Regions from separate parts of the Homo sapiens genome. Here regions 1, 3, 4, 5, 6 and 7 are each linked to region 2. The links are contacts of gene promoters, found by promoter capture Hi-C in blood cells and fetal thymus (Javierre and others, 2016). All regions are on one chromosome and are shown on one strand. The core of a region is centred on a gene start or on the middle of the fragment in contact, and the rest is flanking DNA. Distances in the headings are between cores, read along the strand shown.

Region 1 (3,299 bases), core at 539-3,038, 350 kb after region 2:
ATTATTTTGCACACTAGTTGCTACAGTTTCTTCATAGTGTCATTGGCCTTTATACTTTGGTGTGTTTTTTGCAGTGGCTGGTACCAGTTTTTCTTTTCCATATTTAGTGCTTCTTTCAGGAGCTCTTGCAAGGCAGGCCTGTTGGTAATGAAATCCCTCAGCATTTGCTTGTCCGAAAAGGATTTTATTTCTCCTTCACTTATGAAGCTTAGTTTGGCTGGATATAAAATTCTGGGTTGAAAATTCTTTTCTTTAAGAATGTTGAATATTGGCCCCCAGTCTTTTCTGGCTTGTAGAGTTTCTGCTGAGAGGTCCACTGTTAGTCTGATGGGCTTCCCTTTGTTGGTGATCTGACCTTTCTCTATGGTTGCCCTGAACATTTTTCTTTCCTTTTGACCTTGGAGAATCTGATGATATGTGTCTTGGAATTGATTTTCTTGTGGAGTATCTTAGTGGTGTTCTCCTTCTTTCCTGAATTTGCATGTTGGCCTGTCTTGCTAGGTTGGGGAACTTCTCCGGCATAATATCCTGAAGTGTGTTTTCCAGCTCCCTCTCTCTTTCAGGTACTCCAATCAGTCATAGGTTCAGTCTTTGTATAAAGTCCCATATTTCTTGGAGGCTTTGTTTGTTCCTTTTTATTATTATTATTATTTTTTCTAATCTTATCTGCATGCCTTATTTCAGCAAGGTGGTCTTCAAACTCTGATATCCTTTCTTCCACTTGGTTGATTTGTCTATTGATACATGAAGTTCTTGTACTGTGTTTTTCAGCTCCATCAGTTCATTTATGGTCCTCTCTAAACTGGTTATTCTAGTTAGCAGCTCCTCTAACCTTTTATCAAGGTTCTTAGCTTCTTTGCATTGGATTAGAACATGCTCCTTTAGCTCAGTGGAGTTTTTAATTACCCATCTTCTGAAGCCTACTTCTGTCAATTCATCCATCTCATCCTCCGTCCAGTTCTGTGCCCTTGCTAGAGACATATTGTGATCATTTGGAGGAGAAAAGGCACTCTGGCCTTTTGGATTTTCAGCATTTTTTTGTTGATTATTTCTCATCTTCATGAGTTTGTCTAGTTTCAATCTTTGAGGCTGCTGACCCTTGGATGGGGTTTTTGTAGGGACTTTTTTGTTGTTGATGCTGTCGTCGTTGCTTTGTGTTTGTTTTTCTTTCCATGGTCAGGTCCCTCTTCTGTAGGGCTGCTGCAGTTTGCTGGGGGTTCACTTTAGGCACTATTCATCTGGTTTGCTCCCGCACCTGGAGATGTCACTCAGCAAGGCTGGAGAACAGCAAAGATGGTTGCCTGCTCATTCTTCTGGGATCTCTAACCTTGATGGGCACACACCTGATGCCAGTAGGATCGCTCCTGTATAGGGTGTCTGACAACCCCTGTTGGAGGGTCTCACCAAGTTGAGTGGCACAGGGAACAGGACCCATTTAATGAAGCACTTTTACTGTCCCTTGGTGGAGGGGGTGTGCTTCGCTGGGGAAACCCACTCATCTGGGCTGCTTGGATTCTTCAGAACTACCAGGAAGAAAGGCTAAGTCTGCTGGTCTGCAGAGACTGTGGCCACCTCCCACCCAGGGGCTCAGGCCCAGGGAGATCCGGGTTCCGTCCCTGAGCCTCTGGGTGGAGTTGTTGGAGTTCTTGCAGGGAAGCCCCTCCCAGTGAGGAAGGATGTGTCAGGGTCAGCCCTGAAGAGGCCCTCTGGCTGCAGTCTGCCGCAACTGGTATGTTGGACTCTGGGGGACATCTCTTGGGGACCAAGCCATCCAGCTTCCCTGGCTCTAGCAGGGGAAAAACGTGGCTTGGAGCTATAGAGATGGATGCTGCCCTTCCCTCGCCCCGGGAGCTTAGTGTGTTAGGCAGTTATGAGTCCCAGTACTGGCTGATGCCCCTCCTCCAAGGAGCTCAAAAGGCTTAGGCAGCAGGCAGCCACAGTTGTGGTGCTGGTCGCCTCTCCTCCTGGGGAGCTCGCAGGCTTATGCAGATTTCAGCTGACAGGCTGTTGAGAATCTGCACAGCTCTGGGGTTGGGAACCTAGGCCCCAGTGGCATGGGTTTGCCAGTGGGATTTTGCCATCTGTGGGTTGCATGGTTCTGTAGAAAAAGCACGGTTTCCCCAGCTGGATAGCACACTCACTCACTGCCTCCCTTGGCTAGGGGTCGGGGGCTCCCCTTCTCTATGTGGCTCTCAGGTGGGTGGTGCACCACACTGCTCTTTCTTGCTCTCTGTGGATCACATCAGTCACCTAGTCAGTTCTGATGAGAGAATCTGGATGATACCATGGTTGCCAATGAAGGATTCACATGCTAATTAACGGTTCTTTTCGATGACAGCCTCTGATATCCGCTGTTTCTAGTTGGCCATCTTGGCCCCATCCCCAGGAGTTCTTTATATATCCTGGATACATGTCCCTTTCTAGGTATGCTTTGCAAACAGTTTCCCATAGTCCGTAGTTTGTTTTCTTAACTGTGTTTTTCAAAGAGCAAAGGCTTTTAATTTTGATAAAGTATAATTACAATCTTTTCTTTATATAGCTTACGCTCTTTGTGTTCTATTTAAAAAATTATTGCCTACTTCAATGTTACAAATTTTTTTTCTTGTTTTTCCAAACATTTTATTGTTTTAGCTTTTTCATTAGGATACAGAGTATATTTTGAAGTGATTTATGCATATAGTATGAGATAACATATGAGGCTTGTTTTTTTCCCACATAGACATTTGGGTGTTCCATCTCCATTTGTTGAAAGACTGTTCTTTCCTCCATTGAATTCTTTTGGCAACTTGACCATATAAGTAACAGTCTATTTATTGATTTTATTCTATACCGCTGATCTCTAGATCTATTAAACTAGCTTGATTATAGCAGTATAAGTTATTCAGCTTTCCTTTTACTTAAACAATTTTTATTTTGCCAAGTTCTTTTTCTTTCTGTGTGAATTTTGGAATAGGCTTGTCAGTTTCTTGAGAAAAGATTGAGACATCTTATTCAACATTTTATAGGTCATAAATCTGGTATAATGTATGCCTGGACCTATTGCTGACATCTTGTAATTATATGGAGGTTAAGAATAAAGCGGACATTGAGTAGTATAGAAATAGGAAGATAAATTGGATTGAAGTGATATCTTTTGAGCCTACAGAATTAAGCAGCTTCTTGATTTTTAGTTATATGATAAAATAAATTCTATTTTTTTGAATAAACCCCAATCTAACTTCTTTTAATTTTTTTGATCCCTTACAAATAACAGTTCTAAATTTCACACAATAATTCTAGTTCAGACTTTAAAAAAAAAA
Region 2 (3,460 bases), core at 23-2,522:
AACCCATTTTCATTACTCTCAACGCTCCTTCATGCCAGTTAACTAGTTGGATGTTTTCCATCACTCGAAAAATTGGCCATGTATATTCTGTTGCCAGGATAGTTTCCATTCTGCAGTGTCTCTCCTAAAAGGGGAGAAACTATTAAATCAAAATGGGGTAACCTCACAAGTATAACTATTACAACTTGTATAATAGCTCTTTTACTTCAAACAACAACGACAACAGAAAAAGACCTGTACCTTTTTAGTGGAACTTATGAATAGAATTATTAGCCCAGTAACTAAAGTTGTATGGTACACAATGGTAGAAGACAAGCTAAAACGACATTGGCCTGTAAAAGTTGCTTTCCTGACCTTTCTCCCTCTTCAAGATGGTTAAAGTCACACACGGACAAATGTTGATGTACATTTAACTTCTCAATGTTGATCCAAGGGGAGAAAAAATTGATCAATGTAGGTGTAATCTTCCCCTAAATGAGGAATATTAGCAAGGAAAAAACAAAAGGATATAGTGTCTGCCTGAAGGAATCCTCTTAGATATAAAATCACAACATTTGCTATGAAATAAACTAGAAAGTTTTAAATGCGTAATTACACGTGCCAGGAGTTATGCCCACGTTACTCCACAGGCCCACGCTAGTGGGTGCCAAAGTCAGAAAACCTGCAGCGGCGGTGAGTCACTCCCCAGCAGCACTCTGGGGAATAAGTGTTGGAGCCACAGCACGTACCCTATGGCGCAAGACCGCTGATTAGAACAGAGGGGAAAGGGGATGAGGAAAGAAGTTTCTTCAGCGCCCGCTCCGGGCACCAGCGCTGTCAAACCTGCCACTACGGAAGCCACAGAACCCGGTTACCCGAGTCACCCCGAGCCCCGCCCACTCAGGTTCCTCCCCGCCTGGGGCGGGGTTGGCGCGCGAGGGCCGAGGGGCGGCCCGTGTCCCGAGACGGCTCCTGGGAGGCGGGCTGCCTGTCTAAGTGGGGGTGGTGGGATTCCGGCGGTACCTGCGCTGGAAGTCCACGGCGTAGGGCTTCAAGTACGGGTCGATCTCCAGGAGTCTGGCCAGTTCGGGCACGTCAGCCAGGGCGGCATTGAGCGCCGCCTCGTAGTCCTCGGGCCGAGCCGCGGGAGTCATCGGAGCCGCCATATTCCGCCGCAGTCCAAGTAGCCGAGGCCCGAGAGGTCGAGTGGGGCCTGAGCGGGCGCTGGAGCTCTAGCTGGGACGCGGCGGCTAGGGCGGAGCCGGAGGGCGCCTAGGCGTGTCGAGGCAAGCCGAGGCGAGCCGCGGCGGTCCGGGGCCCTTTATAGCCGGGACGGAAGGCCTCCTGCCCTTTCTCCCCCCGCCAGCGGGGAGGAGCGGATCCCGGGGTGATGCCGGGACGCACGTCCGGAGCGGGTAGGAGGCACCGAGGCCTCTCCGCCCACTCACGCGGCTGGCACCTGGAGGCCGCAGGGACCTGCCCTTTCCTCCCCTTAACGGTTTTTTCCTGCTGGCGGAGGTCATTCTAGGAGGTGGGTCCCAAGCTGACCTCGCTCAGCCTTGGCCTTCCTCACCCTGACATATTCTTGGCTTTTCTTTACCCACTTAAGCACCCACTGACAGCGACCCCTTCAAATTGGACATAAGGGGTTTTTTTGGAAAGGACCGTATTTCTCAAAGTTCTGAGACTTTTGAGGGGCAGTATTTCAAACATATCATGTAAATTCACAGAGAGGGGAACAGTCAAGTGTAGCTAGAGTACTACTGCTGAAAATGTTAATACCTCTTACAACCAGGACTCTCCTAAGTTTGCCAGGTCACGTGAATTTAAAATTAACCAAGACACAGAATCCTGGAATACCGTTGGAATTCTGCTGTTCTGGTACTCTTTTCTGCATTACCAACAGCTAAGAATTTTAGCCATGGGAAGAACTTTTCTCATTCTCCGTAAGGCCAAAAAGGAAAAGGCATTTGCCTGTGTTTATAATTGTTAACAAGCTTTTCAACGATTAAACTACCTTTGATAACACAAATGATATCATTGAATTGGAACTCCACTCTGCCACTTACAGTGATAAGGCAAGAAACCTCTCTTCCTCTTGGCTTGGGAAGCTCCCACTTGGAATTCCCTTCTTTTATTGCCATTAACTGACTAGCTTCTATTTCAATAATTGCTTTTTAGGAATACAGAGTTGGACTCCAAGAGAGATGGACCCACCAAACCCAGGAGGGTCCAAGCTGCTTTACACCTAGAAACTAGAGAGGATTGAGGATATTTTTCTTGTTAAAACCCAGAACTGGAGGATCCTAGGGGTTATGGAGGAGAAACAGTATTAATCAGCCGTGGGCCTTGAATTTTAAAATATTTCAAAGGAAAGTTTTTATAAGGGGTTTCATAGACTTGAAAGATAAGTGGATATGAAGACAGACCTCAGTGTGAAAAAGTGAAGGACTTGAACGACTTTAAGACGTGCCTTGTTTTCCATAAAGATGACAAAAAACTGCTGCAGACATTTGTAAAATATAAAGCACTAAAAAAGGAAGAAAATTAAAAAAAAATAAAAACCCGAAGCAGGACAACTATTAATAACAGACCCACAGATCTACATCTCCAAGCCTAAACTTTTTTCAGAAACCCAGGCTTGTATCACTGCCTGTCTACTGAGATTTCCATTTAGCTGGCTAGGAGACCTAAACAAACTGTCTGCAAAACGTGACCTAGAATCCGTCTTCTCATCCTTCCTGCTGTCACTCTTATGCAGGCCACTGTTTTCCTTCACTTGGACCAGAATGTAGCTCTCTAACTGACTTCCCCTCTTCTACTCTTTCTCACCTCTACTCCATTCTCTGTACCAGTGTTTCTCACACTTTAATGTGCATATGAATCACCTAGGGATCTTAATTGAGTTCCGATGTGGTGCTTCAGATTGCATTTTTAACAAGCTCAGAAGTGATTCTGATGCTGGTGGTTGGGGACACAGTTTGGTGAGACTCTACACTGAGTAAATCAGACGATGTCATTTAGCAACTTAAATAGCATAGTATTTCACTTAGGGTAAAATAGAAACAGCTTATCATTCTCTAACAAGGCTTGTATAATCTGGACCCTGACTACCTTTCCAGCCACTTTTCTCATCATTTTCCAGTTTTACTATGCTCTAGTCACACTGACTTTCCTGGAACTCAGTGAATTTGTTGTATAATAGCCTCTAAGATTATTTGCTTGCTGTTCTCTCTGTTGGAAATTTTCAGGGAGCTGAGCTCTACTTGCTTAATTTTTTCCAAGCCTTCATTCCAGCCTCAGCAAAAATGTCACCTCATACCTGAGAAACTTCTGATTATAGACTCCTCAGTGTCTTCTGTATAACTTCAATCTCTTCTATGCAACAGTTAACAGAATCTAGGTGTTTGTTTTTCTCCTATTTATTGACCTTTCCCTTTAGAACCTAAGCTCCCCACGAGCACGATCCTAGCGTACATAT
Region 3 (3,231 bases), core at 542-3,041, 440 kb after region 2:
TGATAAATTTGAAAACTATAAAATAATTACTGTGTATTTATCAAGTAGTATTCTATCAGAGAAAAAAATCAAACTGAGTAATATGCAGTAAGAAATTTATGGTGGTAATTGACCTTATCCAATTGTGAAAACTGGTTTTGCAGTCCTATTTAGGCAGTTATTCCTGCTTCTTGTGTTGGACCTGAAGTCAACAGGGCCAGCAATAGAGAAGAAAGATGATGTGAAGGAGAGCAACTGAAATGGGAGAGTTCTCTGACCCACTCGTGGAACCTGCTTGGGCTGCCATGTGCTCAAACCCTTTATGGAGGGGAGATGCAGACAGGTAGGAGCCAGGGCAAGCACTTTTGGGCTCCAGTCCCACAGTGGCGTCTAGGAGTGTGTTACAATTAATGTTCTTTTAGCAGTTGCCATTCGTGGACAGCTAAGTGTTTAACCAGTTCAGTGGAGAGTCAAGGTGACAACCTTTTACACCTTTCCCTCTTGGTACCGAGGTCCTTTGTCCAGCATCCAGGAAGGATCAGGTCACATGGATTTGAAGGATAGTGAATGTGGGGATTTTATTGAGTGATGGAGGTGGCTATCAGTGGGATGGATGAGGAACTGGAAAGGAGATGGAGTGGGAAGATGATCTTTCCCCAGAATTGGGCTGTTCCACAGCTGATTTCCTCTCCAACCCTAGCCAAACTCCTCTGGACGTTCAAATGCTCCTTCTCCTTCTCTGCTGTGCTGCTCTGTCACTCTGCTGCTCTGCCTCTCTGCCGCTCTTCCGTTCATGGAGCTTAGGGTTTCGGATTTTTATGGCTACAAGACTGGGAGTGGTGGGCCAGAGTGGTGTTGGAAAAGGCAAAATTTGGGAGTGAAAACAGGAATGCCTCTTTCCATTTAGGCCTGTGGGTTTCCAGGTTTGAAGGTGGGGCCTTTGCTGGGGAACCACCCTCATCTACTCAGTATTTCCTTGCCTCCTGTCCGTATCACAATGACAAGCTGTAATTTGGGAGAATGGACAGAAATCCAAAAGATTGAACTGGAGCCTGTATGCCTCTGTCTCACCTCTTGCAACTTTGATGATATGGGTAACAGGCAGATCGTGCCAGTGCCTTCATCAGTGGAGCTGTATACATACCTGGTCCAGGATTTGTAGAAGGTGATAGAGGAAATGTTGCAGAAGCTAGAATTGCAGGCACAACTGGTGCCTCAGGCAACAGGTTAAGCCAGTATCAGCGGCAGTGCTAATATGACCCTATATCAATGGTGGTATCAGTTGACCTATAACAGTCGGGGTGATATGTCACCTCCAAGGGGACAAAAATTGGTTTTGTGGGGGGTGGGGAAAAATTCCTATGAACATGATTCTTGGTCTTCAGTGGCGTAACTCTACTTGACAAAATCTTGTTACTTAGTATTTAATTTCAAAAGGAGGGAGAGGAAATTAGGGGAAAATATTTGAAAGACTTATATGGAAGGCAATGATTTAAAAAAATGTTGAGAAACAGTTCTTACACTAACCCTTAAATGTAAACATGGAGATTGCTTTCACTTCCACTTCCAAATCTCATTCAGATTTGTACAACAGCCAGTTGTAAATTGACATGACAACAAGTCTCCATATTTGTGCATTATAAAGTTCAATATTTCTCATGTGTCTATACCACATTGAAAACATCTTATCTTTTGGGACATTAATGTTAAATTCATATCTATACTCTGAGCTAGTTGTCTGACACTGGGCAGATTATGTAATGTTCACAATCACAAAATGACTATTATATTGTTTTCCCTGCTGCTGCTGTGAAGTTTAAATGAGTTGCCTCAAGGGAAAGCACATGATCTAAAGTGACAGCAAGGTGAGTAAATGTTTACAGCTAATACATTACCATGTTCCATATAATATCAAACATAGACCTTCAATATCATTTATGTATTGGTAAGGATGCTGGACATTTGGACATTCATAAGTTTTTATCATTTAATACAATTTTTTACTTTACAGTTGTGAAAAGTTATATAAATAGGTGAGGTAATTCACTTAGCAGGTCAATGGCTAAATTCTAGCTATCTCCCATACTTCTAAAGTCTCAATCTAGTTTTTTCTTCAATTTCATAATCTGCCTCCTTTAAGATTATAAATCACTAATTTTTTAAATTAATGTTTTTCTTATTTAGTATGTTGAGAAAATATTTTCATTAGATGTTGGACAAATGGACAAAACATGAGGGGTGGCAAGTCTGGTGCTGAGAAAAAAAATGTGAAGTAAGAACGGGATTCCTCTGATCCAGGATCACAGCTTAGTAACCCATGAACTGTTCCAAATTACTTCCCCTCTTTAACTTCTGTTCACTTATGTAAAGTATGTTCAAAATAGTGAGATGAGGAAGGTCGATATTTAAGTCAGTGACTGACACAAAGTAAGATCTAAACAAACTTAGCTATTACTCTTGTTTTTACTCCTATGAAGTTTAAACATCAGTGTGCTAATGGCAGCAAAACATACTTGCTTGATGAGAACCTCGGGAGCACAGTTTTACTTGAGTCAGTTTAAAGAAGAAGTAATCTTATGCAAAAAGTCATGTCCTCTGTGAATTTCCTGAACTCTAGAGATACAACAGCTAAATTCAGAGAGCCAGTAGTGCAAGACATTTGAAAGCCAGTGGAGCATGAGGCTGGACAAGATGCATTGTTATGTGAAAGGCTGGCTGCGGCAGATATCAGTTGAGAAATTATTATTCAGGCTGAATGATCCATATGATATTGCATTGCATTATCCTGAGAAGGTCTTGCCAAAATAGATTTTGTTACAGGACTCAGAAAAATTAATACTACACACTAGAAGATGTGGAATATTTATAAGGATAGAATTTAGAATTCTTTCACAGTGATCAGGTGTTCTATAACTCACCGAAAGTGACTTACTGGATGAAAGACACTTGTCTGTGGATTAGCCCACTCTTGCACTGCTGTAAACAAATATCTGAGACTAGGTAATTTGTAACGAAAAGGGGTTTAATTGGCTCATGGATCCACAGGCTATACATGAAGCATGATGGTGGCATCTGCTTGGCTTTTGAGGAAGCCTTAGGAAACCTATAATCATGGTGGAAGGTGAAGAGAGAGCCAGCACTTCATATGGCTAGAGCAGGAGGAAAGAGGGTCAGGAGGTGCCACACACTTTTAAATGACCTAATCTCATGAGAACTCACTCATTATCAGGAGAACAGCACCAATGGGGAAAT
Region 4 (3,212 bases), core at 610-3,109, 260 kb before region 2:
AATTCTGGTAGAATGAAAACATCATTCAGTGGGTCGGGCATAGTGGCTCACGCCTGTAATCCCAGTACTTTGGGAGGCCGAGGCAGGTGGATCACCTGAGGTCAGGAGTTTGAGACCAGCCTGGCCAACATGATGAAACCTCGTCTCTACTAAAAATACAAAAATTAGCTGGGCGTGGTGGTGTGCGGCTGTAATCCCAGCTATTCGGGAGGCTGAGGCAGGAAAACTGCTTGAACCTGGGAGGCAGAGGTTGCAGTGAGTCAAGATCACGCCACTGCACTCCAGCCTGGGCAACAGAGTGAGACTCCGTCTCACAAAAAACAAACAAACATCATTCAATGAAAAAGTCATCAGATTCTTTCATAGTCTACATAAACACTTTTTTATAATAAAAATCACAGTTTTTTGAAAAATATAAAGATGATATAAATTAATTTTAGTTTTCACATACATGCTTTAGTTCATAAAATACTTTTCTAAGAAAAAATAAATTTTATTCTTGTATTCTAATTCTCATTATTTTGCATTGGGGTTAGGAGAAAAGTGACTCTAGTATTTCTGTACAGAAATGTATATTAGCTCATCTAACTTGTATACATTAAAAAAGTAAACTAAAAATCAAGATTTTCTTTCTTCTAAAAAACTATTTTCATAATTTTGAATAGAGCAGAAGATATTTTCCAATTGTTAAGCTGTATTAAAACTTACAACTGAGGGGCAATAAAAGTGATACATCTATGCCAAATCCTGTATTTAAATCAAGTCTACTTTTGAACCTCCAAATTTAGAATGAGAGTAAATACATCTACTTCTTATTGATAAGAAACCTAATTGCCAAAGTAATTAGTGCTAAACCTACTGCTTTATTCTCATTTTCAGCATCATCATTCAGTTACCGTAAAGAAATCTAATTCATTTAAGGCTCAATAATCTCTTATCTCTCATTTGTGCTATGGAATTTGGTTTTATGAATCAGAGGAGAGAAAGGAAGTCCCCTGCCTCCAGTGCACTGATTAACATATAGGTTAACATATTAAGTTCCGGTATCAGGAATCAAAATATAGAGAAATGATTATGCTAAAATGGAGTTTCCAATAACTGCCAGTAAAGCAGACTGGCAGAGCTCTGCCCTATCGCTTTTGGACATTTGTGACATACTCTGACCTTAGCAAATACATTTCAATGGCGGTATACATGCAGTTATCCCCAGCTTCACAGTTTCAACTGAGGGAGCACACAGAGACAACGCTAGAACGGTACCTGCTGATGCTGCAGCATGTATGGCTATTTTAAGATTCCTTCGGGCTGTTTGTTGCTATCTTTGAAAACAGATTTGACACTTATTCAGCAGATCCTTTGGATTATTAAGCTTGCAAATTAAGCTTTAGCAAATGCTGTGTACTAGTTATGATGGGCAAAAATTTCATGGAAGAAGGAAAAGTTGCGTTTTGTTCTTCCTTCCTCCTTTTAGTCTGCAAGTATGGGAGGTATGAGTGATCTCACTGGAAGTGGTATAAGACCTACAGCACTTATGATCATGTTCAAGCAACTCCACTGGATCCCAGCACATATGACTCAGTTTAATAAGGAGTTCTCTTATAATGAAGCATTATTAGAATAGGTACATTTGTTAATGTGATTTTTCTTCCTCTGGCTCTTTGCTGAATAACTTAGGTAAAAAGAAAACCCGTTTGTCTAGATTTTCTGTATTTTACTCGTCTGTGTGGGCTCCCTTAATCTCACATTAAAACGAGTGATCTTATCATCTGGAGCCTAAAGGTGTATTTAAACGAGTAATTCCTGAAGCACTGTAGTCATCCAAAACAAGATGTTGCTGCTGGGAAGAGAGAGCTAGCCCTTATCTCACGGCTGTGTTGGATTACAATTCTGTTGCAGGCAGCATTCAGCTCTTTTCTGTTTCCCATGTCCTTGCAGTGCTGTCCTCCTCTATGTATTACTGATACTTATGAGACATTCTTTATTCTACCTGATAATTTACAACTGCATTTTCCACACTGGTGAGATCAATTCGATTAGTGATTGAAAAGTAATCTCCTGATGTTGCTGCCACTTGTTGGTTGGCTTGTTTTAATTATGCCAGCAGATCTTTACTCTCACAAAATTGAAAGGATGCCAAGATATTTTCTGCCCACCTCAAAAGAGTCTGAGCCGTCGCCTAAGAAGATCATCTCCCCAAAGCTGGGAGAAGGTATTCTTAATTGTGTGTCCTGGAAACACTTAGTATATTGACATGTTTAAACGACTGAACAATAATTGCCTCTCCATGACAAGTACAACTTTAAAATACATGTGCAATAGCATTTTACAGTTTCCAAAAAGCTTGGGCATGTTAAAGAGTTTCTGCTTCCTAAGAATCTCTTGCTGTAGGGAAGATAATATGAATCATCTTCATTTTACAGGTGGGGGAAACTGCAGTGCAAAAAAAGTTAAATTAATCAATTTCTCAGTGAGTAAATGGCAGACAAGGGTCAGGATTCCAGGTCCTGTGCCATGGCGTTTTGTGATCTTTTCACTATACCTTCAGGTTCTTCATAACAGAACCCTGTTGGGGTACACGGACATTTAGAAAAGCTGGCTATGTAAGAATTTTGCTGTCTGAGTCTTTCCAAGTCCTTTCAGTCTAGTTCCATCAGTGAAAGTTCAGTTTGCTTGCAATCAGTTGCTCCTTCCCAATGACTCCCCTTTGTGAGCTGAATCATCTTTCCTAACCCCTAAGGGCATCTAACTCTTTTGATTATTTCAGAACTTTATGGTAATATTCGTATTCACTTCCAAAACTATTTTTATCAAACTTATTTTACGTGTCAAAATTGAATGTTCTCACAGACTACAGTAATAATTCCTTTAAGAATGTGATAGCACCCTTGAGCCCTCTCTCTTAAAAATATATATCTTTCTCCAAATATATCTAAAGCTGTATCAGTGTCATCATCAACATACACCCATATGCACACACATACATTTAGGGCAACACCTAATTCTCATAGGACTTTCCACTGCACTTTCCTCACAACCCATAATCCAGCAACTCACTCTTTGTAATCCCTGCTCTTTTCAATGATTTTATGCTATGATCTTTGGCATATCACTTTTATATATAATATGGCAGCTTACAAAGTGGAGTGCTGGCATCACTCTGAGAAGTGGGAAAACAGTAGAAAGATGGAAGACCTAGGGGTACCACAGAGATC
Region 5 (3,035 bases), core at 409-2,908, 340 kb before region 2:
AAAATTAAAAAGCACTTTTTCAGTGTTTTCCACTCCTGTTAAGACATAACATGTTTGCCCAGATCACATGGAATGCTCACCACCTCCTCTTGACAAAGCATGAATAATGGCAGCAACCGCACATCTTGTCTGTCTTGCTGCCAAAACAATCACCCTGTGATGTAGTGAGAATTAAAAGTTCAAAACCTTCAACTCAGTTGATTGGGAAGTTTTCATTTGAAGTAAATTCTATTGTGGCCCCATAACCTACATTTTAAAGCACATTAAACAAGGCTATTTTAGCCTTGATGAGCTGACAACTGTAAAACATTCATAATAACACAATTGCAGTCTTGATAAATGCTTCCACTGTGTAATCTATTATAGCAATGATCTACGCATTACAACTACTTCTTAAAGTACCAAAAACATCACAAGATCACATTGTTTACATAAACATACACATGCATGTATATTACATATCTATCTAAGGATGTAATACAAGCCCTTAAATCTCAGCTTTAGATTGATGCCCTTCACTTTTATTATCAGGGAATTTTTCCTTCCATACTGTTATAATTATTTAATATGAATAACTTTATTTTTTCATCCATCAAACAGCAATACTCACCAAGAACCCTAAAACAATCAGTCTTGATAGTGAAGAAAATATTTATCATCATATGCACACTATACACATTATCAACTTCTAATGTATTGTTCTTTTTCTCAAATAGTAAGAAAAAAATGTAAACTGGATTGCCTAAAAGATTTCTTAGAGCTACCAGAATGATTATGTAAGAAAAAAGTAGAAGCAACCTTGCGTTCTTTTAAGATTAAAGGTCCAAAATTTGCAATGTCAAGTGTAGATTCAGTAATAAGTGAAATGTTCTCTTTTTATCTTAATCTTCATTTAATACATTAAACTTATACATATCAGGACATTAGGTTATAGAAAATGTTTCTAAAAGTACTTTCCAAAGTATACCCCTATAGACCTCTAGATGGCAAGCTTTAGTAAATTTTTATGACTGGCCTAAATTCAGTTTCTTAGCAATTCTGTGTAATCCACCTATTGAAATGATTTTCAGTTTAATAAGCTACTCAGATATATATGTGCTTTTAAGGAACAAAGCATTAAAAAGTGAATTACATTTTTTTCTAAAATTTAATCTTTTTCTTTGTGATTACCTAATTGTAAAAAGATGGTGTTCCAGTGACTTCTAGCAGTGTCTCTTTGGTATGCTGGATGTTCTGGAAAAGTTTTGCCTAATTAATGATTTCAGCTAGCTTCTAAAACGAACTATTCCTTTATAATGATAAAGATTAGTTACAGCTTTTGTTATAGGAATTTTGCAGATCTCGAAGGATAATAATAAGAGTCCTTTGAGAAATATAAAGTAGAAGATAGGTGCGTGAGTCTGTCATTAGAATCTTCTCCACCTCAAACATGTCCTTTACAAAACAAATATCTTACATGGCCAATTTCCAAAGAATACATGTTTTTATAATACATCACACATATCTGTTTAATTCTATAATCACTGCTATTCCTTTAATCAAAGTTAGTTATATTTATTTTCAATGCTAATTATATTCAAGGGTTATCATGGATGAACTGAAATAAAATTAGTAGGAGATGATAATTAAAATAAGTGCAAGTGGCATCAAAATGGACAAGCTCACTTTGTGTGTAACATTATTAGCAATGATGTTGAAGAATAAAATCCAGTCATAGCTGGGTACATATGTTAAAGTTGTAATGAGGACTTGAACGATCTCCTAAAGTTAACACTGCTGTGAGAAACTCCTAGCATACCTAATATTGCAGAACCCTCTATTCTGAAAGATGATTCCTCCCCCATATACATGATAACTATGGGGACAATATTTTATCGTGATATAATACTGGCTACGGACTACAACTGGGTATCTGACCCAATTGGCATAAGCATTTGACAAAAGCTGGACAATGTTCTTTTCAAATTCCAGCCTTTGTGACCAGGCTGGGTCGCTGACCCAATATGGACCAATAAGAGTCTTTTCTAAAGATTTATAAAACTGTGAAAAAGGAGAACAAGTATGTCTCCAGTGGCTGAGGCCTCTCTCCAGCGACTGAAGCTGTAATATATATACATTTTATGAGTTAGTGGCAACCATATTTTCCTCCTGTGGGGGTTGGAGAAGTTGAGGAAAGTGAATGAAAGACAAAGAGAAATATTAAAGCAGGTGGATGGAGTTTCTTGGGAATTTGGCTCCTGATTTCAGTTATTTCTGAGGCTGAGCCTTCTTACCTTCCCAACTGTGAGAGAGCCTAGCAGCCACTTATTAAGTTACCAATTTACTTAAGCTTGGACAAGTTCTATTTTGAACACTTAAAACCAATAGAATCTTAACTAATGCTCTTTGTTCTTTTTTAGTTGTGTTTTGAAGGAAAATCATTTTAGAGCTAAATTAAGTTGCTAGGTTTCTAATTCTTAGTTATACAAATACTGACAGTGAACACATCTTTTAAAAATATGACAGATGTGAGATATATACCTTCTTATAAAATCCAAGCACTTTAATTATTAATGGGCAATAAATAAAATAGCACCTTTAACTTAAGAGACTTCCATGCAAAAACAACAACGTTGTGCCATAGAAATGTAAGGAGAACCCAAATAAAGAGAGATGAGATTTTCTTTAATTTACAATTATAAATATAAATCAGTTCTTTTGGAAAATATGTGCATTTTTCATCTAAGAAATATACAAAGATTGATCAAATAGTGCAGGTTAAACTACAATGAAATATAAAAGGAAAGTGGCTTGAGTTCGGCTTTCTAATTCATAAGCTGGATGCTCTTTCAAAACTCCTTATAACTCAGAGTCACATTCTTTTCAGACATTAGACTTCCTCTTTTTCAATGCAAAACCTTGAGTGTTACTTTGCAAATGCTTCTTAGATGCTCACAAAATTTCTTTTAATTTTGGATGGTAACAACTGCCGATGGTTTTTACTAGGAGTTCCTTAAGCCCTGCAACATAGAGAAAACCTGCCTGAGAACAAAGTC
Region 6 (3,234 bases), core at 321-2,820, 410 kb before region 2:
CAAAGAATACAAATAGAAGGCTTCTTTAGAAGCAATCATGAAGTTTCCTACCTGAGTTACTCCTTATATTGTGAAGGATTAAAAGGAAAAAAATCTAATCCTGTATCTTTGCTAACCAATGGTTTTAATTATAATCTCAAAAGTCATGCCTTCAACTGAAAATGAATTTGCAAGAGACTCAGCACAGATATTATTTTGAAAAACTACAAAAACAAAACCAAAAATACTTCTGTATTGACGCTAATAAAAGATATTTTTTAAAAGTTGGTATGATAACTTGTATAAAGTTATAAAATGAATATGTGGCAAATATTTTATTTAATTCATTAGTGAGAGTACCAGTAAGATGTTACTATTGGTTCATAGAATTCAAAGTGTTTACATGTATACAGACAATCAAGAATGCTGAAATAAATTTGCAAATGAATGTAAATCTGATGAATATCCACATGGCAATAATCACTTGCGTTCTACTGGACAAAATTTAATAATTTGCATAGACAAGAATTATTTGTGTTACTAAATAGTTCAAAGAAGATGAAAGGTACAAGGCCAAATAGAACCAGATCACCAGGAAAGGTGTGTTACGCAGGACACTCAATACTTTTTGGGTTTTGTCCATTTCTATGCCATTCACAAATTTTCCCTACAAGGCTGTCAACTGGAACCGTCTGTTTTTGTATGTTGTGTACTATTGCTGTTCTTGTTGTTATTCTTTTCCCAGTGTATCCTAACACAAGAAGAGACAGATAGTTAAGCTTCCTTAAAAGTGGAATGTCCATACAATTGATTTTCAAAAAGCTTAGATGCAAGACATTTGAGAAGGGGATACATCAGGTCACCTGACTCTGTGCCTAACATCTTTTGATGACATGTATAAGCAGCCATGCGCTCTATGTATAGGTTTCTTTGCATTCTCTATATGAAAAAAATGCATTTTTTTAATCCACTATCATTAATTGGTGCTTAAAAGCGCATGTTTGTTTCAGGAAATCTGCTTGACAGTCTATGGTGGCAGAAGAAAAATTCCATAGACACTTTGCTCCACCAGTAGAGTGTAGAGTAAGCATATAGCCTTTCAGATTAGGAACTGAGTGAGCATCTAGCCTTTCAGTAAATGGGAGTGCTAGAAAGCAGTGGGATGTTAAACCAGCAAATGGCTTCTGTGGCGGTGGCCCATGCCTTACTGTGGCTACTCTGTCTTACACTGTCAATTTAAAGCTCTGACCAAACACAACTTAAAGGTGATTGGTGCCCTCTGAAAAGGAGCTACTCGTTTCCAGAAAGGCCCTATTAAGCAGGCATCAGTGTTTCCTGGAAACTTGAAAGGGATATCACAAGCCTGAGGGTCCTTGGTCCTTCTAGCTTACTCCTCTGAGCCTTCTTGGTTGATTAAGTCTGAGGTTCTTGTGTGAGGTGCTTTGGGGCAGTCCACACTGTGAGGTTGGCAACACAACACTTCTTTTTGTGATTAACCTCCCCAGGGCTCTCAGCTCAAAACCTTGCACTTGAACTCACTTCACTTAAAATTCTACAAAAGCCAGAACCCCTGAGGTCTCATTGGCTTCTAATGAAATTTGTCTTTTCTGCCAAAAATTTATCTTCTTTAACAGAAGCCTATTTCCTCCCACCCATCCTCCCTTTCGGAAACTGTCCAGCTGTGGGTCAGACCTCATATGCTCTTCTTCTGATACCCAAGATAAATCTGACTTTGTGCATACCATCATTCTGATTCAAATAATTACACGCTTGGTTTAGTAGGGGGTGCCAGCCACAAATGTGATAATTTCTTCTTCCTGCAGCCTCACACAAAGAGGTAATTTGTTCCATGCCCCCAGCAACAGGTGAATGGCACAAAACATGAGCAATGCATGCATGGAGAGAAAGCCACGTTTTATGGATAAAATGGGTGACAGAGAAATGATCCATGTGCACAATTACTAAATTTGCATTAATCATTTTGGGATGGATGCTTTCATTGTATGAGTCTTGGGAAATTTGGCAGAGGAAAGCTGTTGCCTAGAGAATAAAAATAGCTTTATTCTTGCCGTCATAAGCCTGAGCACTGGGGGATTCAATTCCCTTGCCAACTTCTTGAAACTCCAGCCCAAGGCATTGGAGTGTCACTTAAAGCTCTGCACTTCTTAATCAAATCCCAAGTTTTTCATTTCCCAATACTTAGGTTTTATTCGCTCTCCAACAACAGTATCAAATGAGCTTGGTTTTCATTTTACAATTATGTTCTTTTTCTAAACTGGTATGAAAAAAAGTTAAAAGGTATCCCAGAGGTAAATATAAAGAAGGTGAAATATAGTTATTAGTGTTGGTTTTTTTGGAAGAAAAGCTTTTATGTTTCTTACAAACCATTCATTCTAGTTCATAAATTGGCAGGAAGAAATGGTCACTCACTTGAATGTCATCAAAACTGATGCTTAAGCCAGGTGAAAGTGAAATAAAATCTATGCCAGCAAGCTTGTATGAAGAAAAATATATATTTCCAGCTGTACTACAACTAAATATAAGCATTAAAGGGCTTAGAGGAGAAAAAATGGAAACATTATGGTTGGTGAGTTAGGGAACAAATCAGTATTTACATAGTCATATGAATGAAGGTTACTATGGTTAACCCTCTCTTCCATTAATTATACCTAAATTGTATATCTTTTTTTTTTTTTACTTGGGGTATAGTTCTTTCCATGCTCACAAACTCAGACTGTCGTTTGTGAACATCTTCTCCATCACTCCTACAAGCTAACAGCCTCTTCTTGCCTTATCACGACCTCTCTTCCCTGCCCACACACACATACTTCTTTAAGGCTTTTTTTTTTTTTTTTTTTTTTTTTTACCTCCACCTCCTGTATTTGCTTGTATCATGTTTGTGAGCACTGGCATAAATCCTTTCCATTGGACCCAGTCTTTTTCCGTAGACATTCTCCTAAAAAAAAAGAAAGTTAAACTTTTTCCATTTGAGGCCACCCTCACTTGCAAACTGAACTTTGGTTCTTCTTTGTTCTGCCTGCCAATAACATCTAGAGTAGGCCAAGGAGATGTAGGGGTATGCCGACAGCATTTATTACCCCTTTCAACTCCAATGTGTTCCTTCCTCTATATCATTCCCCTCTTTTAAAACTTTTTTTCCCTATGAAACTAGCAAAGACAAGAAATATGTCCTGGTAGAAGGGATGGTAAAGAGGGGGAATGCTAATATTTTACAGAAGAAGTTAGACCTTATCT
Region 7 (3,408 bases), core at 484-2,983, 280 kb before region 2:
TCAGTAAAAGGTAGGGCATTGACCATGAATCAGTCAGGATGCAATCAGAAAAGGAGAAACTGTTCTGAGAGCTTAAAGCACAAGGAATTAAAAGCAGAGGTTTGGTTACACTGTTGACAAAAGAGGCTTAGAATCTATTAAGGATCACTGATACACATCCCTACCTGTGTAGCTCTACCGAAACTTCTCTGGTTTCAGCCCATCACCATCTCTGGTGTAGCAACTGAAGTAGGTTATAACTGGTAGCCCAGCCTCTGACATTTATTTTCTTCAAAGCACATTTCAGAAGATCTTAAAGCACATCTCTGATTTGCACCCTACAACGAAATACAGAAACTGGCTAGTGTTCTGTAGACTTGTGGTCAAGTCCTAACTCATAGTGGGATAATGGGCAAAGACTTCTCTGAGTCAAAATTTTCCAATAAATAAAATTTTAACATTGGCATAGATTGGTAGATTTGAAATACTATTCACTTTGGGATATTTTGTTAAAAGCATTACTATGTGGGATTATAAACAGATTAAAATAGAGTTCCTATGAATGAGGGCTCTCAGCGCCACGAAGCCATGCCCAGTAAGCAGCCCCAAACTCTGCTCCAGCCCCCTCCCTGCCCACCATGTAGGTGTTAATGAAGATGTCTCATTGCATATTTTGAAAATCACTACATTAGAGGATTTTAAGGTTTCTTCAGCTCTAAATATTTTTCTCTCACTTTGTAAACAATTTTTAATGACTCTATAATCCATAAGAAATTAAATTCAGTCTTCTTAGCTTAGACATTGAAGGCTATTTATAAACTGGTTCTAACTTACTACACCTTTATTTTTAAATCATTTTCTTCACAGATATTGTGCTTCCATCATTTTGGACTACAAGTTCATGTTGAAGGAATTAATGTATGTTTAGAGAGCATTCAATGTAATTTCCTAGTTCTAATATACTAATGTGCTTCCTTTCTGTATGTCTAGAGCCCTGCTCATATACCTACTTGAATCTTATGTATCCAAGGCCAACTTCTTGATTGATTTATCAATTGAGATCATTTAGTTTCATTGATAAGTGAACCATTTAGGATTGTATTGACTGCAAGTAACAGAAAATCCTAAATATATTAGTAAATATATAAGGGCTTTTTTTTTTACGTGAATAAAGTGAGTAAAGGCAGCTCAGAATTGTATGATTGGAAATTATTGGAAATCTGCATCCTTCTTTCCCATCTGCCATCAAGCATGTAAAGTTGTCTCATAGCTAAGATAGACGCAGATCTCCAGCATTTTATACACATTCCAAGCAGCTGAAGGAGAAGCTTGTTAATAGTAAATGTTTGAGTTTTCTGTTTTTCCTTTTAAGCAGGAATCCCAGAAGTCCCACCCAACTTCCTCTTTTGTCTGGAATTTAGACACATGGGTGAAACTTGTAATTTGGCACCTGAATAATGGTTCTATTACTGTGGAAGACAGAAGAATGGACATTAGATAGGTGACTCTTAGACTCTGACACAGTAACAAATCTATTTGCTCCTTTGTGACTACAGTCAATTTACTAAGCTGTGAAATTCTATCTTATTTATCTTTACTTTCCAAGAACCTGGCACAGTATCTCAATATATGAACGAATAATAATGAATCAATAACAACATTGTCTATTTTAAACTGACATTTGGCTAGCTAGTCAGAATGTCAAGAATAGACCCACTTTATGCTCGTACTAGTTCTATGAGAAGTACTAGGAATAACTGGCCAGGAGAGACAAAAATAATTTTTGAGAATGATCCTTCAAAAGAACAAAATGAAAGCTGAACATTATTAACTTCATTTTTATGACTGCCTGTCAATAAAGGCAGGGTATAATATATATTCCTGTATCCAATATTATTTTTTATTTTGTCCCATATTAAGAGCTTCTCTTAACTTTTCACATGTATCTATGTAAATGATATACATTTTTTAATGATTTAGATATATAAAGGAATGGAAGTTTGATTAAGTGCATATAAGCATTTATTATTTTGCCACACCCAGAACATTTATTATTTTTTGTATAGACTTTCCAATGTTTTACACATTAGAGTGAGAAATAACATCCTGTTTTTACAACATTAAGCAGAAATCTCCATGAATTTAGAAAATCCAGGTTTTATACTAATAAAATATCAAGGGAAGCTTCTGCACTTCTCACTAGCTTTAAGTGGTTCCTCAGCAACCAGTCACAAAATATTGAAACAGATCACTGTGGACTATGCCATCACACCAGAAGCCATATTTAAAACATCTATTCATCTATCTATCTATATATTTATGTACTTATCTATGATCTGTGTATCCATCATCTATTTACTGCCTTTCTCCAAAAATAATGCAAATAGTTCACAAATATACATATACTACAATAAGTGATATAAAAATGAATTTTAAAATATAGGCAACAGTAATCAGCAAGAAAACATTAGGCTGAAAAAAAAGCAGATCAATCCAGCAATTAAATGAAATGTTTATCCTAACATCCTACTCTGTTTCTAGAAGTTGGTCGTTAATCTGGTTTTCAGATTTCTCATAACCCAGAAACATTCATTCAAGAGAACTCTGAGGTCAGTACTTGGGGATCCAATTAAACACCTCTCATGATCCCATGGAGATAGAGAGTAGAATGACAGGTACCAGAGTCTGGGACGAATGTCTGGGGGTGGGGCAGAGAGAATGGCTAATGGGTACATACATACAGTTAGATAGAAGGAATAAACTCTAATGTTCTATAGCAGAGTAGGGCGACTCTAGTTAACAACAGTGCATTGTGTATTTCAAAATAGCCAGAAGACAGGACTTGAAATATTCCCAACATATAGACATGATAAGTGCTCAAGGTGATAGATATCCTAAATTCCATGACTTGACCATTACACATTCTATGCATGTAACAAAAATCACACCCACTCTGTAAATGTGTACAACTATTATTTATCAATTTTAAAAAACCTATCAAGAGATTTCTGGATCTAAAGAAATAAGATCGTCCATTGACAGTTAATCACGAGATCATCATTTTAATAGAAATGTTGACTCCTAGACCAGGTGACCATGGAGGAAAATGGATGGCAAATGCACAACACACACACAAAAGGGAGTTAGAAGGAGGGAGTTATTGGTCATAGACACATTAAAAAAAAGGAGAGATAAATTTATCTTTGTGTTACTGTATACTGTGTTTAGGCAAATAGAGCTTTTTCCCCTAAGATGTTATTGATGTTCCCTGTGAATGAGAACTGAGTTGAACACTGTTAAATGAGTTTGGGAAATACTGAATTAAACAATGCTGGATCAATTTCCTTATTTTAGGAATTTTCAGGGCCTTTAATATTTAATTTGCATCATGATTCTGTAAGGGGGAATAAAGTATATAGGATTTCCCAG

Evidence for each region. The method cuts DNA at HindIII sites, captures the fragments that hold promoters and counts their contacts. A CHiCAGO score of 5 or more calls a contact.
Region 1: a contact is called between a fragment that was not itself captured here and the fragment with the promoter of GBE1 in region 2, in 3 of 17 cell types (monocytes, M0 macrophages and neutrophils). The highest score is 10.6, in monocytes.
Region 3: a fragment that was not itself captured here is called in contact with the fragment with the promoter of GBE1 in region 2 in 1 of 17 cell types (naive B cells); the score reaches 5.7 in naive B cells.
Region 4: a fragment that was not itself captured here is called in contact with the fragment with the promoter of GBE1 in region 2 in 3 of 17 cell types (monocytes, M1 macrophages and M2 macrophages); the score reaches 6.4 in monocytes.
Region 5: a contact is called between a fragment that was not itself captured here and the fragment with the promoter of GBE1 in region 2, in 1 of 17 cell types (endothelial precursors). The highest score is 7.8, in endothelial precursors.
Region 6: a contact is called between a fragment that was not itself captured here and the fragment with the promoter of GBE1 in region 2, in 1 of 17 cell types (endothelial precursors). The highest score is 5.0, in endothelial precursors.
Region 7: a contact is called between a fragment that was not itself captured here and the fragment with the promoter of GBE1 in region 2, in 1 of 17 cell types (M0 macrophages). The highest score is 5.5, in M0 macrophages.

The regions. Positions count from the first base shown.
Region 1 is chr3:82,112,946-82,116,244 of GRCh38, forward strand. All of the region lies in intron 1 of LINC02008 (long intergenic non-protein coding RNA 2008), which reads left to right. Among named protein-coding and RNA genes, the nearest start is that of LINC02008, 130 kb to the left of the region's middle. The HindIII fragment of the contact is 3,167 bases long and covers 206-3,299 here.
Region 2 is chr3:81,760,373-81,763,832 of GRCh38, forward strand. It overlaps GBE1 (1,4-alpha-glucan branching enzyme 1), which reads right to left and starts at 1,273. Exons shown (of 16, transcript NM_000158.4): 1 at 1,003-1,273. The coding sequence starts at 1,145. RefSeq lists enhancers at 552-721, 1,062-1,351, 1,138-1,746 and silencers at 822-901, 1,402-1,501. The HindIII fragment of the contact is 5,689 bases long and covers 1-1,974 here.
Region 3 is chr3:82,204,321-82,207,551 of GRCh38, forward strand. The region is part of intron 3 of LINC02008 (long intergenic non-protein coding RNA 2008); the gene reads left to right. Among named protein-coding and RNA genes, the nearest start is that of LINC02008, 220 kb to the left of the region's middle. The HindIII fragment of the contact is 4,818 bases long and covers 1-3,231 here.
Region 4 is chr3:81,495,076-81,498,287 of GRCh38, forward strand. The region is part of intron 15 of GBE1 (1,4-alpha-glucan branching enzyme 1); the gene reads right to left. Among named protein-coding and RNA genes, the nearest start is that of GBE1, 260 kb to the right of the region's middle. The HindIII fragment of the contact is 958 bases long and covers 1,381-2,338 here.
Region 5 is chr3:81,418,403-81,421,437 of GRCh38, forward strand. No RefSeq gene overlaps it. Among named protein-coding and RNA genes, the nearest start is that of GBE1, 340 kb to the right of the region's middle. The HindIII fragment of the contact is 1,338 bases long and covers 990-2,327 here.
Region 6 is chr3:81,348,114-81,351,347 of GRCh38, forward strand. No RefSeq gene overlaps it. Among named protein-coding and RNA genes, the nearest start is that of LINC02027, 360 kb to the left of the region's middle. The HindIII fragment of the contact is 1,543 bases long and covers 800-2,342 here.
Region 7 is chr3:81,477,731-81,481,138 of GRCh38, forward strand. No RefSeq gene overlaps it. Among named protein-coding and RNA genes, the nearest start is that of GBE1, 280 kb to the right of the region's middle. The HindIII fragment of the contact is 856 bases long and covers 1,306-2,161 here.